Regions from separate parts of the Homo sapiens genome. Here all the other regions are linked to region 2. The links are contacts of gene promoters, found by promoter capture Hi-C in blood cells and fetal thymus (Javierre and others, 2016). All regions are on one chromosome and are shown on one strand. Each heading gives the region's core, a stretch centred on a gene start or on the middle of the fragment in contact. The rest is flanking DNA. Distances are from core to core; before and after follow the strand shown.

The links. The method cuts DNA at HindIII sites, captures the fragments that hold promoters and counts their contacts. A CHiCAGO score of 5 or more calls a contact.
Region 1: a fragment that was not itself captured here is called in contact with the fragment with the promoter of RSPO3 in region 2 in 1 of 17 cell types (M2 macrophages); the score reaches 5.6 in M2 macrophages.
Region 3: a fragment that was not itself captured here is called in contact with the fragment with the promoter of RSPO3 in region 2 in 2 of 17 cell types (M2 macrophages and endothelial precursors); the score reaches 5.9 in M2 macrophages.

The regions. Positions count from the first base shown.
Region 1 is chr6:126,818,117-126,822,283 of GRCh38, forward strand. No RefSeq gene overlaps it. Among named protein-coding and RNA genes, the nearest start is that of RSPO3, 300 kb to the right of the region's middle. The HindIII fragment of the contact is 1,500 bases long and covers 1,983-3,482 here.
Region 2 is chr6:127,116,378-127,120,151 of GRCh38, forward strand. RSPO3 (R-spondin 3) reads left to right here and starts at 2,294. Exons shown (of 5, transcript NM_032784.5): 1 at 2,294-2,912. The coding sequence starts at 2,816. LOC105377989 (a long non-coding RNA gene) reads right to left here. Exons shown (of 14, transcript XR_002956387.2): 4 at 2,524-3,774. The HindIII fragment of the contact is 5,242 bases long and covers 1-3,774 here.
Region 3 is chr6:126,785,521-126,789,777 of GRCh38, forward strand. No RefSeq gene overlaps it. Among named protein-coding and RNA genes, the nearest start is that of MIR588, 300 kb to the left of the region's middle. The HindIII fragment of the contact is 3,108 bases long and covers 323-3,430 here.

The DNA.
Region 1 (4,167 bases), core at 1,483-3,982, 300 kb before region 2:
AATAAATAAAATAAAAGATATTGAGTTAAAGTTTAAATTTTTAAGATAAGCTGTATTTATATTTGTATATAAATTACAAAATATAGAAATGTTTGCTCATTTTACAGAACTTGCCTTTGATTTTATTTTAAAATATTTGTGGCAGATTTAAGTGACTTAAGATTTGGGGTATTAAAACGACAAACATCCAGCATTCTATTCCTTTTATAATGACAGAGGAAATAGAAGTTATTTGCTAACTTTAATTCTTGAATACCTGCAGTCACATTTTTAAGTAATCGCTAACTTCGATACATTGGCACATATATATTTTGCTCTCAAAGATTCGAAATAATTTATGATACCCCTGTAATCCCAGCACTGTGGGAGGCCGAGGCAGGTGGACCATGAGGTCAGGAGTTCGAGACCAGCCTGCCCAACATAGTGAAATCCCGTCTCTACTAAAAATCTAAAAAAATAGCCAGGTGTAGTGGTGGGAGCCTGTAATTCCAGCTACTCAGGAGACTGAGGCAGAAGAATCGCTGGAACCTGGGAGGCAGAAGTTTCAGTGAGCTGAAATCGTGCCATTGCACTCCAGCCTGGGCAACAAGAGTGAAACTCCATCTCTAATAATAATAATAATAACAATAATAATAATAATAATTTATGATAGACAAATACCATAAAATAAATCTTTCCCATTGTAAAAGGTATAAAGTTGAGGACCCCTATTTTATCTTCACTAATTCATACTTACGGAACCACATTCTTCCAGAACATAAGTTACTGTCTAGGACTAAGAAGAGTTTCCTTGAAATCTACATGAGCTTTTCCTTAGCATGAGGGTACTATTAAATAACTGTACGTTTCTAAGCAGAAATGAACAGTAAATTATCTAAGGTCAAAACCAAAACATGATCAAACAGTAGCTACAACACTTTTAACTCCTAATCAAATAGCTCTGGCTTCTGGCTGAATTGTACTGACCAACAGGTAATGATCAGAGCCCTTCTACCCTTAAGCATCCACAAATTGCTTAGACTTTAAGAACTAGAGAAAATGTTCAAGCATCAAGCAAGACAAGTCTTATGTGCCATTTACTCTAATTCTCATGGTTTACAAATAGGAAAAAAAAAAAAAGTCGCCAGGTGAGCGGTGGCTCATGCCTGTAATCCCAACACTTTGAGTTTGAGGTGGGCAGATCACCTGACGTTGGGTGTTCGAGACCAGAGTGACCAACATGGAGAAACCCTGTCTACTAAAGATACAAAATTAGCTGAGTGTGGTGGTGCATACCTGTAATCCCAGCTACTCAGGGGGCTGAGGCAGGAGAATCGCTTGAACCCAGGAGGCAGAGGTTGCAGTGAGCTGAGATTGTGCCATTGCACTCCAGCCTGGGCAAGAAGAGCGAAACTTCATCTAAAAAAAAAAAAAAAAAAAAAAAAATTCTCAGAGGCTTCACATAAAATTCAAAGCTAGAATCCAGTTGACCTCAGCCCCCTACCTCCATCCAGGCCTCTTTCTCTTGGATCAAGCTGTTTTGGGGATAGGATCCCAGGAGACACACAATGTTCTCACAGATTCTTCTGCTCTGCCAATTCTTTAGTCCATTAACATAATTTTGTTAGTTACTGTATTTTCTTAAGTTATTTTTGGGAATTAAATAAATAAAATAATCTAAAACTATTCTGCCACCACATATAGAGAAGAAGATTAAACAAAATGCGAAATTCTGGATGAAAATTTATAGCTTCCAAAGGAAATTAATTTGCAAGGAGGTGTAATTTAAACTTAAAAGAGGGAAGGTATGAAGCCAAATCTATTTTCCTGAGGTCCACGTTGGGATAGAAATTATCTTAGTCTTTTACCATGAAAAGTGAATTTTTGAAACAAAATGACAATAACGGTAAGATTATACAATGTTTTTATATATGTGAGGTCATTGGATCTCCAGATAACCTAATAGGCAAGTATTACTATTAACTTCACTATAGAAAAATGGAAGCTTAAATTCATGAATTGACATGCTCCTCATAACAGAACTAGTTATTTTCAATGCTTGAATTCGAACCCAGATATTGTAACTCCAAATCAGAATTCCAACTTTCTTCTTCCTTATCAAGTATCCATAAAATATACTGCACAAATGCACATTTATTCACCTTTTATATAGTGAATGAATTTTTCTCTATTGTTTGCTGCTATAAAATGATTTTCTATGAATTATTTTCATTTAATATTAGACCAGCCTCATGAATTAGACAACACAATTATTATAACTTCCATTTTACTAATAAAGAAATAGAGGATCAGAAAGATAAATTGACTTAATGAAGGTCACACAGTAGCTATGTGACAAAACATGGCTTCACCTTCTGTCTCTCACTCTAAATTCAGCAGTTGGGAATGCAGAGAAAGACAAGTTGCCTACCAACGGAAGCTCATATGCCTCCAAGAACTTTTATCTGATTCTGAGTTTTTAATAATATGTTGAACTTATAGCCTTCCAATACCAGAGTTCATTTCTCGCTTAGCAATTCTGCCAAGGAATTCCTTTAAACCGGTGATGACTGTCATTTAAAATGCAACCTTAGAGATGCCCAAGATTCACCCAAGTTTGAAATAATGTCCAGACAATTACTCCAATAGTTAAATATTTGTTCCACAATGACTTAAACACAAATGTGAAATAGATAGACTAAACCAACAACATTTGCTTAATCAGCACTTTTAAACTCTTTCCCTATACATGTTGTTTTGAGGATTAAAATCTGCTTTCCCCCTTTGAGGATTTATGCTATATAATAGAGATGGCTGGAAGCCATTAAAACAAAACAATCTGTGTATCCTCAAGGCGGAATAAAAATGTAAGTTCATTTTAAGCATGACACTGTTATGAAGCTGGTGCCGTGCTTTTTTTGATTAATCTCCATGTGTATGTTCATTTTGTAAAATATGTTAGATGACAGTAGCTTTTCATTTAGCAAATTAATTTCACTCTAATTCAACAGGGATGAAAAAATAATAAAATCTTCCCTTTTTGTGAGACATTTAACCTTTTTTCCAAGAAAAGTATAATTTTATAAAATATGCAATACATATTCTAGTTTAAAAATTGAATTAGTTCTGCTTAAACAAGGTCTCTTGAATACTTGTAGATTTGTGGTAGCAATAATTTTATTGAAAACCATTCAGGTTTGAATTTTTAAAATATTTTCATGTATAGAAGAAATGATTTTAGAATTGCTTTAAAAATAACATGGAGAATCCAACAATGAAACGGAAAACTGTATAAATTTGCTTCAAGATGATGATGTTGATGTTGAGTTGGCAGCAGAGGGTGGGAGGTGAGATGAGGTGGCTGGGTGAAAAGAAAGCTGTTATTAAATTCTATGTCCCTGCTAGTTCCATTCCCCTAAGGAATTTTCAGAAATCTTGTTTCTAGTGCTGATACAAGTGCCAGACTACAGTTTCCACAGTATAAATTATCCTTGTTTTGTTAAAGCTTAAATTATTTTTATTAGCTGGTCACCTGGGATGTGAACAAGAGTCAAGTTAAAACTTTCAGATAAGCAAAGCAGCTGTTGCAATCAGCTCTTTCTTTGTCCTTTCTACTTCAGTCCATCTCCTGCCTTTCCCCCAATCTCTCTCTCCCTGCCTCCATCAGTCTCTCTCTCCCTGTCTCCATCAATCTCTCTCTCATATCTCCTTTGCTCCATCAAGAAATAAAAATAAAGTGAAAGAACACATGAATTTTAAGAGATACCACGCAAGCTCAAACAGGTCCACTTCCTGTCATGAAGAGATTCTGCATCTGAGAGATGCTAGGGCAAGTCTGTCTGAGGGTACAGCTGTCACACTTCTATTATATTAACCTCAAAAATTCAGCAGTGAAACCAAAAACTTTCTAGTGGTTCGACAAAAGAAAAATATAAAATTGTTCAAAAAGCATATTAAAGAAGTTGTATTCCATGTAGAAAAATCCAATTGTGAAAAATGAAAATTTACTGGAGATATTTTGTTTTTCTAAGTAACATCTGCTAATTGTAGCAATTTGAAAAATGCCTAAAAACAAAAGGAAGAAAAAATGAAATCGTATACCATACAAAGATAACTATAACTTTGGAATTTTTTCCAGTATGTTTGGAATGAATAGAGAGTGTATGTGTTCATCAAATATATATGTAT
Region 2 (3,774 bases), core at 1,044-3,543:
TGGCTTCTTTTTTGGATAATCATTATTGGAATTGTCTTGTTATCTGTAACTTCGCTGGTTCAAAGTGATAAACTCAGTCATTTATAAGTAGACACTTTGCAACAGATAAAGGATGGAAAGTCTGTGTGTGGGGGTGTGCACACACATGTGCATACAATGTACAGAAAAAGTTCTACCACTGAAAGAGGGATGTTGTAAATGGGAGCTCTTAAAAAGAAGGCAAAAATCATAATCCTGTTGAGGTGTCATCTTCCTCATAATATCAAACCTAAAGGAGACTATGCCTACTTTCGAAATTCCAACACGAGCATGCAAAATAATAAATGATATTTAATTAAAGAATTAACATCAAAAGGCCATCTCTCAGATTCTAATTTTTAGCATCTTGAAAATAATGCATATTTCAAGTTCCCTTCCTTTTGCATCCAGGCCACTTTATCGCCTCTATCCTACTTTTGGGATGTATAACAAATATACCACTAAAGGACTCCAGAGACATACAATTCACAGCATTGCAAACTTACAAAATGCTCTAATTCATGTAAATTTACCTAATTTACATAAATTGAAGGCAATCCAGTAATAGGGATTACAAATGGAGGAAGGAGATAGAAGTGCAAGTGTCACTTGCTACTCTGCAAGGCTTTAGCAATTGACTTACACTGAATTATTTGAGCACAAAAATTAGCAAAGCACCTATGAATCAGGGACTCTTTCAAAGTGACCTCCCAGAAGTTTGCTGCTGTGTTAACCTGTAGTGCTAGTGTAGTCCTTCAGATATTCTGTTAAATATAATACATAGGGCAGGCTTATGTTAAAATCACTTGAGGCTTGTGACTTTCGACTAAATACTTCTTCAGTAATTACTGAAAAGTTCATCGGCTGGTGCTACCGGAGAAAAGACGTGGAAAGCTCACCATTTACTAACGACAGCCAGGGTGTGCCCCACTCAGGGGTGCCGGCCCTCTGTTCTCCCATCCCTGGGTGGGCCAGAGCATCTTACTCTCTGCTGCCTTGGGCCTCCACTTGGGCTGGGAAGATAAGAAAGTAGTGGACCTTCCCCTTCCTTCCCCAAGACTGGGAAAATCTTTCCAAATCTTATTCCCAGTCTTCCAGATGCGAGATTAGAATGTACAACAGATCCTCTCAAGAACACTGGGAGACCGAGGGTGGGAGAGAAAACTCCAAGGGGGGCGAGCTGACTATAGAGGGAATTGCCTGAGCGGGAAAGGAATCTTCCAAAGCCACAGAAAAGCCTTGGTTTGGAAGAAAGCCGTAGCACAGCTGCATTTCCAACGGGAAGGTCCTGAGCGCACACACTTCTGGGTCCTCCCCGCTCGGAGCAGGTAAACCTCAGAGTAGCTGACCGGCAGCACCCACAGAGTTTCCTCCCCACCACCCGCCTGGCGACCAACTGCAGCCGAAAAGAAAGAAAGAAAGGAAAGAAAGAAAGAAAGAAGAAGGAAGGAAGGAAGGAAGGAAGGAAGGAAGGAAGGAAGGAAAGAAAGAAAGAAAGACAAAGAAAGAGGAAGGAAGAAAGAAAGAAAAGAAAGAAAGAGAAAGAAAGAAAGAAAGAAAGAAAGAAAGAAAGAAAGAAAGAAAGAAAGAAAGAAAGAAAGAAAGAAAGAAAGAGAGAGAAAAAGAAAAAGGGAGAAAGGCAACAGAGGAGAAGGTCAGGAAAGCCGGGAACAAGTCAGCAGCCAGAAACTCTCCAGCGATCTGCCAAGGGGGAGAGGGTAGTTGCGCGCCGGCGCTGGGGATGGGGTGGGGGCGCTGGGGCACAAGGGCGCAGGGGCGCACGGCCACCGACAGCCGGGTGCGCCTAGCTTGAGGCCGCGGAGAGGAGCCGAACTGGGATGGGTGGGGGGTCTTCGGCCTCAACACTGCCTGCCAGCCCCAGTGCGCCCAAGTCTCCCCGCCAGAGCTGCCCTTCTGGAGGGGCTCTTCGCACGCACTGCTTTCCCCATTCTTCTGGCTGGAATTCTCCGGCCGTCACTGCAGTGTCCAGAGATGCTGCGCTGTAGACCCGGGACCCCTTAGGCGCCTCTTCCCGTCCCTCTGCCAAAGCGCAACGCCTGTACTTTTCCAGCTCCCTCTTTCCCTCTTGAAATTGAAAGTTATTGAGGTCGCTCAGGGTTGTTGCTCCAGCAGTTTCCTTCCCCGCCCCCGAGCTCCCCCCCGCCCCCCACAGCCATCCCCCCTCCTCTCCCCCTCCCTGCCCTCCTCTCCCTCCCCCCTCCCTGCCCTCCTCCTCCTCCTCCCCTATGTGGTGCTCCCGGGAGCCCAGCCCAACACTGGAGCGTCTCCTGCTCGCGCACGCCAGAAGCAGCTCGGGGTCTCTCCGCCGCCCCTTGGCCATGGCCGCTGTGCCGACGGCGCCCGCTCCCCTGCGCTCCAGGGGCCCCCGCCGCTGCAGCCGCAGCCGCCGCAGCTTCTGAGCCCAAGGGGCCGCCGCTGCAGCCGCCGCCGCCGCCGCTCGCCCGCCCGGATCCCGCCTGCGGCAGTTGCCGCACAACATGCTACCTGCGGCCGCCCCGGCGGCTCCTGGAACCCCGGTTCGCGGCGATGCCAGCCACCCCAGCGAAGCCGCCGCAGTTCAGTGCTTGGATAATTTGAAAGTACAATAGTTGGTTTCCCTGTCCACCCGCCCCACTTCGCTTGCCATCACAGCACGCCTATCGGATGTGAGAGGAGAAGTCCCGCTGCTCGGGCACTGTCTATATACGCCTAACACCTACATATATTTTAAAAACATTAAATATAATTAACAATCAAAAGAAAGAGGAGAAAGGAAGGGAAGCATTACTGGGTTACTATGCACTTGCGACTGATTTCTTGGCTTTTTATCATTTTGAACTTTATGGAATACATCGGCAGCCAAAACGCCTCCCGGGGAAGGCGCCAGCGAAGAAGTAAGTGCAGGGTTTTTTACGCGTTTGCTCCCTCCCGCCGCGTTCACCTGTCGGGTCGCTTTGCCTGTCCGGAGCCGGCTCCCAACTGCAGCGGTCCTCCCGCCCTGCGCCTCGCAGAGGAGATGCAGGTTCGGGCTTTGGGGGTATGGACGGCGTCTTTCACCCTTGCCTCTCGGCGCCCCTGCCTTCCGCAGCATCCTAGCCGGTGCGAGGGGCGGGCGGACGCGGCGCTAAGGTGGCTCCCGCCCCATGGTAACTTCAGGTTCGCGGGAAAGTTCGGTCCTGGGTTAGACTCGCACCCGGGATTTGTGCTTTCCTTTTGAGGATCGGACAGGGGCACCCAGCCGAAGGCACTTGGGACTCCCAGACGCAGGATGCCTCTGACCGCTGAGTAAATGACAAGGGAGGCGCGGCCGCGGTACCCGCTCACCTAGCGCAACCGCCTCGCGCGGGGAGACCTCGGCTGGGCCCTTAGGCTGGACTCCGGTAGCCGAACGCCCGCTACCCGGCCAGGAAGCCAGGGAGCGAGCGCCTGCGCGGCCGCATCCCCGACACGCACCAGCGGAGCCAAAGGGCGCGCGAGGCGATGGGGTTCGCGTGTCTGCGCGTTTGCAGAGCTGCCGGACGTCCCCCGCCCGAGGGTTGAAGACAGCAAAACCCCAGCTGTGGGGAGCCGGAGGTGCGGAGTTTCCAGGTTCTCTCTTGTCACATGTGAGCGTCTGTACCATCTCTGGCCCTTTCAAGTGTGTCCCCTGGGACACACACGTACAGAGAGTGGGGTCTCCCTAAAGATTCGCCTCCTCGCTGCCCTTAATGCTGTTATTTGGAGGGTTGGATTGTGATGGCTTCTTAAGACGGTGTC
Region 3 (4,257 bases), core at 627-3,126, 330 kb before region 2:
GGAATTTCTTCAGATAACTGAATCATTCATTTTAGGACCAAATCCTCTATATCAGGTGAGACCCATGACCCTAAACAGTGGCCTATCTCACTCATTATTGTATATTGCATTCAACACATATTTAAAGACCAATAACTAAGCTAGGCTTTCAGGATATAGCAGTTTACAATATTATAAAAGTGATTAAGATAACTACATTGTCTTAGAAAGATTGGCATTGAAGTAAATTAAAAATAAAGATTGGTTTTCTTCTTGCTGTTGTTTCTGCTGTTTTTAAAGGGAGATTGACTCCAATTACACAAGGCTTTAAATGTTAGACTGAAGCTTCATTGCATGGGCAGTGTGATGTAGGGTCCAATGAATGCAATGTTAATTTTGAGGTTAATTTAGTTGCTTTAAAATATTTTGTGCAACATGTTAGAGTTTATAGCATTAGGATATTTTGAAGTTACCTTAGAGAAAGTCTACCTTTCCCAATTTAGAGATGAAAAAACCCAAATCCACAAAGATTAAGATGAAACTTCATTAAAATGGTGGATTGAATGCAAATATTTAGTTATCCTAACAATAGAAAACCCACTCAAAAGACTATGAAAAGATACACAAAGATGAAGAATAGAAAAAACAAGGGCAACAATATTTAGGAAGCTAGAAAGCAGATGGCTGAGTGTAACAGACCTGGCAGATTGTAGAAAACCATATCGTAAGTTAGCAGTAGGGAAAGCAGAGAAGCAACTGGATTTACATCTCATCTCAGAACTTCCCAAAGCTGAGGGACTGGTGGTATCAGTTGCCCCTAGAGTGGAGCTTTTAGTGGGCATACATAACAGAACATAGAGCCACTGTCATGTCCACAGGTGATTCATATGTTGAGAAAATTAAATAAATGAATGTTTTAAAGGGAGAACTGGGATACAGGCCTAGGAATATGACTCACCATGCTGTGTTTTATTCATTATGTGTTTAGATATAGTGTGTGTGCATATATGAATGTAGGTGAAAGAGAGAGGCTCTTAACGTATTATGTGCTAATAAAAAAGAATCATGACATATCTCAAAGCCATCATGGAGCTGTGAGTCATTAGAATTAAATTTTTAAAAATTCCTGTTCAAATGCCTACACTTAAAAAACAAATTTTTTGAGTGAATATATTGATGATTTTTTCTCTTTTATTGTGAGTTGATTTTAAGGTTTTTTATTTATTTATTTTTTGGAGTGTTTGTTTGTTTGCTAAATCATGGAGCTACTGGAAGAAATCTAATTTATATACTAACTCAGAGAACTCTACAAACTGGACAACCAACCACAGGTTGTGGTTCCATGTAAGTTTTAAGGTTCCCTGGGAGAAAAAAGCCAAGTCTACTTTAGGACTCATAGGTCTCCAGGGTTGTAGTTCTCATGTAAAGAGGGAAGAGGAAGGCTACTTCAAAACTGAAGAGTTTATTCTAATTTCTTCAGAGAAGAGACTGAACACGAAAAGGGGAAAAAAAGTTATTTACAAGGTATCAACAAAGAAGTGAAGTATTTAAAGACCAGATAAATGAAAGGTTATTAAAAGAAATGTTACTGTTATAGAAAAATAATTCTTCCACTGTACCATGACCATAACCAAAGTCTGGAATTTCGAAACAGAACACATAGAAAGCAAAAAAGCAGGGAGGGAGGTATACAGAGAGAGTGAGCAAGTAGAGACCAGAGACCATGAAGGAAGATGAAGAACAGCCCCACTCCCTGAGAACACCAGCTAACTGAAGAAGCTGTGGTATCAAGAGCAGCTTAGGAGACATGGGGAAGGAAAAGAAATTTATAGTTGTGTGGGAGGGTTGAGGATGATGGGAAAAAGGAGGGCACTAGTAATTTTAAAAGGTATGCATGGAGGCCGGGCGTGGTGGCTCACACTTGTAATCCCAACACTTTGGGAGGCCGAGGATGGTGGATCACCTGAGGTCAAGAGTTTGAGACCAGCCTAGTCAACATGGTGAAACCCTGTCTCTACTAAAAATACAAAAACTAATCAGGCATCATGGCTGGCACTTGTAATCCCAGCTACTCGGGAGGCTGAGACAGGAGAATCATTTGAATCTGGCAGGTGGAGTTTGCAGTGATCACGCCACTGCACTCCAGCCTGGGTGACGGAGTAAGACTCAATCTCAAAAAAAAAAAAAAAAAAGTATGCATGGGAACACAGAATCAAATTCTAAACCTGTCATCAATATACTTTTTAAGCCATTTTTTGTAGACCATACACTTTGTAAACTGCACACTGTATGAGCATTTGTAGTGTATGCTCTGGTTAGTCTCAGATTTATGACTTTTTCCCAGCTTAATTATTAATAGCACCCTCTTCATTTTCAAAAGTGTCTTGGTGAGGATAGTAAATTAGATTATTGCCATAGCATCAGGGAAGAAATTTAAAGTATCTTTGAAAGGAATGAGCAGGAAGATTGGGGTAGAAAAAATAGAATTTTTGCTGAAGACAATTTAAAAGAAATTTCATGGTTCTGTTTGATAAATACTAAGAAATTAAAATAAAGAAGCATGAATTCTAGAAAATTCGATGTTTTAAGAAAATATTAAAGTGATACCACTTTGGGGCAAGTTAAAGTTCAGTGATAGTGATATAGTTTATAATTCTTACAACCATTATTCTTTACCAGACTCTATCATAGCCTAGGAGGCTATGTTAAAACACTCCATGGAGTAATTGTCTAAATATCATTTCTCTTTTGTTTTTTTTGTTTTATTAAGATGGAATTTTTGTTCATGCTTATGACATAGAATGAAAACCAAAATTTTTATTTGCTCTTTTTTCTCAAACATCATCACTTGTTTTATGGAAGATTATGACTTTATACAGCCACTTATAAAGCAAATGTGTTTGTATCTCATACCACAGAACCAGTAGAAAAAAAGGGTTATCTTTTAAAGTCTTTGGTCAAGGTCAAAGATCTAATTATATAGTAATCAACACAGATAAATTTATAAACTAAAAGACAATTAATATATATGTCATCAATTACATTCTCCTGTGAATTTCAGGTGGAATTTGGCCTGTTGTTGAAATGTTCATATTATAGTGACTAACTGATCATAGTTTACCTGGAGCATTCCTTGATCATCTCAGTCCTTGATAAACTGCGATGATTATTTACTATCAGACTATTATAAAAAGATCAATAAAGTATCTCAGTGCTAAAAAAAATGTTTTCACAAAAATCTAAACTCTTGCTGATGTTTTAAAATATTACAGTTCATTTGTTCTTTGTTAATTTCTTATTTGCAGTTTGTCATAAGCAGCATCACAGCCAGAGGTGCCAAAAATCTTTACAAAAGGCCATCCTCATGTAGCTCCAAGCCAGGTCCAGTAACAAAGAGCCAGAAATTTCCAGGCCAACTCTGAAGATTTAAAAGGTTCAGATAGTTCGGATAAGCTTTGGACAAGCAGCCAAATTATGGAAGCATATCTGAATTTCCTCCAAATCTACAAACCTTTTGAGGTTTGCTTCTCCTTATTCCAAAGCCACTGCAATAGCTACAGCCTCTTCACAACTTTGCATGAGCAATAATGAGCATGAGATTACTGGAGGCGCCAAGTCACGCCATCCCCTCATTGTTTGGATAATAAAGTTCAGAAGTACCGAGGATAATCTCACTAGAGAGACAGAGACCAACTTTTACTTATCATTCTTGCATTCACTTCCTTTTTAGCTAATTAAACCTTAGTTCTTCACAGGAAATAAAATTTTGCAACCTTCATAATAGTTTGGCTTGGTAATACTGTGTATATCTTTCCCGGTTTGTCTGGAAAAACAGGAAAAGAGAGGTGCCAGTGCGAAGACCCAGAATAGTAAATTATCTTGTAAATTAGCAGATTTTTCATTTGCACGTGGCCAGGGCTGGCTGTGCCACTGGGTCAACAAGGATGCCTGCCCTGGACCTCTGTCTGGAAGGCTTTGAGCAAAGGGGAGGATAAAGGGGGCATGATGGAAGTTGGAGGAGAATTTTCAGAACTACAAGTCAGCCGTCTCTATGTGTGCCCTACAAGTTTCTTGATGTGGCCATACATAAGCCTCTTAACAGGCCAGTTAAGAGGCTGCAGCATACACTGTGTAAGGAGGAGGGGAACAATAAGGCAAACTCGTTTTCAGGTTTTAGTCATATTTAAGGTATATGGGAGTTGTCTGTCTTCTATCACCTTCATGGAGAAGCTGACTCCATGTTCACATGTAACTCCCAACTTACTGTTTCTTGTCCCT